2 separate regions of the Homo sapiens genome follow, and region 2 is linked to region 1. The links are contacts of gene promoters, found by promoter capture Hi-C in human tissues and cell types (Jung and others, 2019). All regions are on one chromosome and are shown on one strand. Each heading gives the region's core, a stretch centred on a gene start or on the middle of the fragment in contact. The rest is flanking DNA. Distances are from core to core; before and after follow the strand shown.

What was found. Contacts are between HindIII fragments. The study calls those that stand out against the background at their distance.
Region 2: a contact is called between a fragment that was not itself captured here and the fragment with the promoter of CCDC175 in region 1, in 1 of the 25 tissues and cell types used here (spleen).

Annotation. Positions count from the first base shown.
Region 1 is chr14:59,575,182-59,578,132 of GRCh38, reverse strand. CCDC175 (coiled-coil domain containing 175) reads left to right here and starts at 1,321. Exons shown (of 20, transcript NM_001164399.2): 1 at 1,321-1,514. The coding sequence starts at 1,358. The HindIII fragment of the contact is 13,786 bases long and covers 1-2,951 here.
Region 2 is chr14:59,845,524-59,848,223 of GRCh38, reverse strand. The region is part of intron 1 of RTN1 (reticulon 1); the gene reads left to right. Among named protein-coding and RNA genes, the nearest start is that of RTN1, 24 kb to the left of the region's middle. The HindIII fragment of the contact is 3,188 bases long and covers 1-2,700 here.

The sequences.
Region 1 (2,951 bases), core at 72-2,571:
GTTTCCAACACCAAAATATGGCACTCCCTGGATGAAGGAGGCCTGGATTCTAGAACTAGTTCTGCTACTGGTATGCTGTGTCCCCTCCAAGGCAGTGTTGCACAGTGGTTTAGGATGTAGCTCAGTGCCCTCACTTGCAAAGCAGGCAATAATACCTAGCTCAAAAGATTATTTGTGAGGGTTAAATGGGGTACTGCAAAGTATTTAAAACAGTGCCTGGAACAAAATAAGCATTTAACAATTGATAGCTATTGTCATTGTTACTATCATTCTAATTTCAATTTTGCCATCTGTAGAGAAAAGAAGAGGAGGGTTGAATCACCTTTGCTTCTCTCTAACCCACCAGAGGAAAAGGAACTGACAGACTCAACCTAAGCCTCATGCTAAGCTGAATTTTGGAGATGCAGAGAAAAATGAATAATATCCTCCTGTCCCCGTCATCACAGAGCTCACAGTTCGATGGGAAGACAGAGAAAAATCACTATGATTCAAGGCAAAATGTGCTCAGTGATGTACTAGATACAAGGAAAGTTCTAAATTAGTACAAAAGAAGGTTTTGTAGCATAGTAGAAAGAGTCATACAGACTTCACTTTATTATTTTATTTTATTATTTTGAGATGGAGTTTAGCTCTTGTCGCCCAGGCTGGAGTGCAATGGCGAGATCTCGGTTCACTATAACCTTTTCCTCCCGGGTTCAAGCGATTGTCCTGCCTCAGCCTCCTGAGTAGCTGGGACTACAGGCACGCGCCACCACGCCCGGCTAATTTTTGTATTTTTAGTAGAGATGGGGTTTCACCATGTTGATTAGGCTGGTTTTGAATTCATGACCACAGGTGATCCTCCCGCCTTGGCCTCCCAAAGTGCTGGGACTACAGGCGTGAGCCACCTCGCCCGGCCCAGACGTCACTTTAAATCCAATATTATCCTCTTGTGGTCTTGAGCCGTTCATTTAGTCGCCCGCGCCTCAGTTTACGTGTCTGTAAAAGTGGAGGTACTAAAAGAGCCTGCTCACAAAGTCCTTGTGAAGATTAAGTGAGCTACTGTATATAAAGGTTCTCCTGCAGTATCCGGCACAAAGATGCGCTCAAAAGTGATCATTATTATGATTCCAGTGGCCCACAAAAAAGATACAGGCCTGAACTAACGCAATGGAAATTGAAAGGGGAAAAATTAGCTAAAGAGAGAGTCATTCTTCCCAGACTGCTTAATTATCGTGGATAAAATTAGAGAACCAGGAGGGTACCTACTAGAGGTGCGGGCCACGAGGGGGCGCCCCACGACCTCGGTGTCCTCGTTGCCCGTGGCAACCGGCAATCCTTGGCTCTGGCTTAGGAGGCGCTCAAGTAGAGCGGCAAAATGGCCCTGAGCCCCTGGACCCCAGGGCTGGGCGCTGGCGAGAAGCTGGTGCAGGCGGCTGCCGTCTCCACTGGCCCCTCCCTGGAGTTATGCACCTTACCCTCCACCCTGGGCTCCTCGGTCGCGGTCGAGGCGCTGGAGCAGCTGTTTGTTGTGGGTAAGACGCCCCTCGGGCGCTGGAAGGGACGTCTCCTCAGAGGTGGCGCTTAGGAGGCACTCAGCGGGAACCCTGAGCGGGGACTCTCCTCCCGGAACCAGGGCATCACTGGGCAGGGCAGAGCCTTCTCCCCGCTCCTTGGAGGCTGGGGAGAGAGAGGTGGCGGGTGGGACCAAGTGCCCAGATCTCCTGCCCTAGCGCAGCTGAGGTGACTTCGCTCAACCCTCAGTAGTAGTTAAATTACTGAGGTGACAAATCCGGGACTCCCAAGCCACTGCCCTATGCCTGCGACCTGATTACACACCTGCATTTAGATTATGCCTTCGATTTCAGTTCTCTTCTTGCCGTTCCTTTACAAGTTAACTTCCTCCGACATTTTGCCGTGGCAAACTGGAGAATTTAACAAGCAAATAGGAAAGGGAGTGTTTAAGAGGCTTCTGTTGTGTTGAGCAAGAAAAATTAGATGTAAAGGGTTGTTTAGGAGATTCTAATAGAAAATGACCTTGGATAGGGCCAGGTTAAAGTATTTTTCAGTTAGAAAGCTGAACCTGTAATCAAGTCACTTAAGCTTAAGGTAAGACAATCCAAGAAAGGGTGTTTCTTGTTCGGTGCAAAAACCGTTTAGGCCAAACAACAAAACATTTCAGTGCTTCACTAGAATCATCCCATTTCTTCAAGATAATCGTATTGATTTATGTTACAATGTTACTATTAATTTGGGATAGTTTTTATTTTCCTTCTTAAATGCGCTAGGTTAATTTCACAATTCTTAGCAAATATGCTTGGGTAAATGTTATCATGAAGAATGTTGGCCGGGCGCGGTGGCTCATGTCTGTAATCCCAGCACTTTGGGAGGCCGAGGCGGGTGGATACCTGAGGTCAGGAGTTTGAGACCAGCCTGGCCAACATGGTGAAACCCCGTCTCTACTAAAAATACAAAAATTAGCCGGGCGTGGTGACGCACGTCTGTAATCCCAGCTACTCGGGAGGCTGAGGCAGGAGAATCCGTTGAACTCAGAAGGCAGAGGTTGTGGTGAGCCGAGATGGTGCCACTGCACTCCAGCCTGCGCGACAGAGCGAGACTCCGTCTCAAAAAAAAAAAAAAAAAAAAAAGGAATGTTACCCACTGAGGAGACCTAAAGTTATTAAGACCTAAATTATTCACATGTATCTGAGGTCACTGTCAATGACAGACCTAGAACCTTGAACTCTTTTCATACTTGATCTCTAGATCGGCATGCCAATGCAACCCTAGTACTTATGTACAAATACATTTTTCTGTTAATGTCTAGACACTCAGAACATATTTCATAGGAAAAAAAAATCATTACACCCTCTTGCCCTGAGTTATAAAATATTAATATGTAAATCTCCAGCACATTTGTCCTCAAGGAGCATAAAATATATACCTAAATTATAACATTATGGAATAGGAAA
Region 2 (2,700 bases), core at 201-2,700, 270 kb before region 1:
AGGGGATGCTACATTCAGGTGGTGACCATTACAAGTTAGATCCTACTTTTCTGTAGATAAAAGGCATAATAATGGTGAATTGATGTTTCATTAGTTTGTGGAGAGGAAGACTTTATGGTCTCTTCAACTCTAGGCCTTCAAAATCTGAGCCATTACTCAGATGAAAGATGAAAGTGGTTGCTAAGATGAAAGAGGCTCTAATGAAGTGGGGCTTAGAAGCAGGTTTGGGCCTGGTGAGAAAAATTATTTCAGGTCTCCAGCAGAGTGGCCTGGCTAAAAGTCTTCACGTGGGATTTGTAAACAAATTCGGGCCCTGAGCCCACTTCCTGACTGCTGGGCTGGGCAATCTGTGCCAGCTTCCTCTGCAGTCTCTTCATATGCAGGAAAGGCTGTGGGTTCAGGTGTTAGAGCTATTCCAAAAAGCATGTAGCATGAAGCAGGGCGTTCTCCATCACTGGAAGGGTCCAAGCAGAGACTTCATGATCACTTACCAGGGAGGTTTAGAAGGAGGCATATTTTTTAAGTGGGAAGTCGAACTTGATCACTTCAAATGTTCTTTGTATTCCTTTTGTCAGGATTCCATGATTTTATGATAGAAAGCAGATAATTGTTTTGCACCAAGTCCTGTGAATGACTAGAAAATGACACACATTTTAAATATTGGGGTTTTACACCTTTAGCTAAAACTTGTATGAGCCCACATGAGCAAAACAAAACAGCAACAATCTAAATTAACAAGTAATTTTAACACTTAAAAGGATTTTCCATTTATTATGTTTATGGACATGCTCAGATAAAACATCTTTTATTAGTCAAATGGAAACATTGGTTAATCATTATGTACTTTAAAATACTATTGGTAGATAAAAATATTGTATAATGTAGGGCTTATGGGGAACAATACTAAAGAGATAGGGACTATTTTTCATTGTTATACACTTACCTGCCAGATACTATTATGCTACATGTTTGTGGATATAAAGGTTTAAGAAAGTTATAGTCTAATGAAGGAGATAAAGAAACAATGATATTTTATGTGAAGAAATACGATAGAAGTATGTACATGATCTACATCAAGCATCTAAGCAGATGAGAAAGTCAGAAAAAGCTTTTTACTGGAAAAGGTTCTGGAAGTGAGTTTTAAAGCATGAGAAATTAGCAAGATGAAGCATAGGGAAGGCTATTCAGAGAGGGACAGCACCACTTAAAACTGTTATTTCTCCCTTTTTGACTTTTTCAATTAGGAATTTTGTTTTTCCTCTCAGACACTAGGTTTCTAGAATGGTGATGAAGGGGTACAGAGCTCTTCATTTGCATTTATCTTTAAGCCTCCAGATTATTCCTGGTTCTCAAGCAAAATCAGTCTCATCAAAGTGGCTGCTTCTCTGAGAGTGCATATGGCTGTCAGAGTTGGACAGACTGTGCATCTCAAACAGGTATGCGGACACCTGGCTACGAACCAAGGGGCACTTGGAGCCAGACTACACAAAGTCCATTTTCTCCAGTAGTAAGCCATTCAAAACACTGTTTTATTACAAATAAATGTATGCATCAAGGAGTAAAAGCACACATAGTTTTAAAATGTGAAACTTTAAATAAACTCCCTGTGTCATGGGTGTAGGCTACACCCAAAGGCCCTTGGGATACACACTTACTCTTCTTTTTCCATTATGCTTACTTGGTAACCACTGAGAAACACTGAACAGAAGGGTGTCTGGGTAGGGACTCTGAGGTGAATACTGAGACCTCAGGAACAAAGTGACAGATGAGTGTGGATGTGTGTGGTACACACGTGTGTGTGTACACACGTGTGCATACATCAACTCTGATCCATGGGCTGTGGCTGCACAGATATGGGTGCTGGGATGAGAAGAGTGCTGTGGAAAGAATGCCGGGATTAATGAGTGATGTCTGCTGTAGGTGAGCAAGGAGGAGGGACACAAGCAGCAGATGGGCCAGGATTTATCATCTCAGTTCATTCTGTTTCTTCTTCCACAAAAAAGCACCAGTGGGGTAAGGAAGAAGTCACAGCTGTGGTACTGGTTCTCTTCTTGCATCATCCTCATTCTGTAACATTGTTGACCTTGTCTTCAATTCCTACCTGGTTGACATCCTATAATGATCCACCTACCCCTGGCTGTTTGCTTACAGACATCAGGGTTGTTATTACTGTTTTTCTGCAATTGTTCCAAGCTCAGGTTTTTAAATACAGAGCCTTCATCAACTGTATGTTTAGAGTTCAAGCTTCTGCTGTTCCTAATCTACTATAGTGCGGATATGTATGATGCTGGAATTTAGGATTTTTTTTTTCTCCTCTAGCATGTTCTATGTAGAATTGTCCATGGCAGCTGCCTAAATAGCTTCTTTTTCTGGGCCTTGAATGATGTCATATGCCAGAAAATTGTGGTAGGGGTTTGGGAGATTCTTCTAGGGAAAGGGTTCAGTGGGTCCAAAGGAATAGACTTGTAAAGCTGGCATAATCAGATATGGACAAGTAGTAGTTCTATGCATGACAAGATTTTCCTGGGGAAGGGGTAGCTGAGAATGGGTTGGTGAACAGGCCATAGTAGGAACTTTAGATTTTATTCTCTGTTAACAATAGAGAGTAATTTGGTATTTTTGGTGATATAAAAGCCCTCTCAGATTTGTGTTTATAAAGCACTCCAGCAATGTGGAAGGTAGGAGTAGAATACGGTGAGG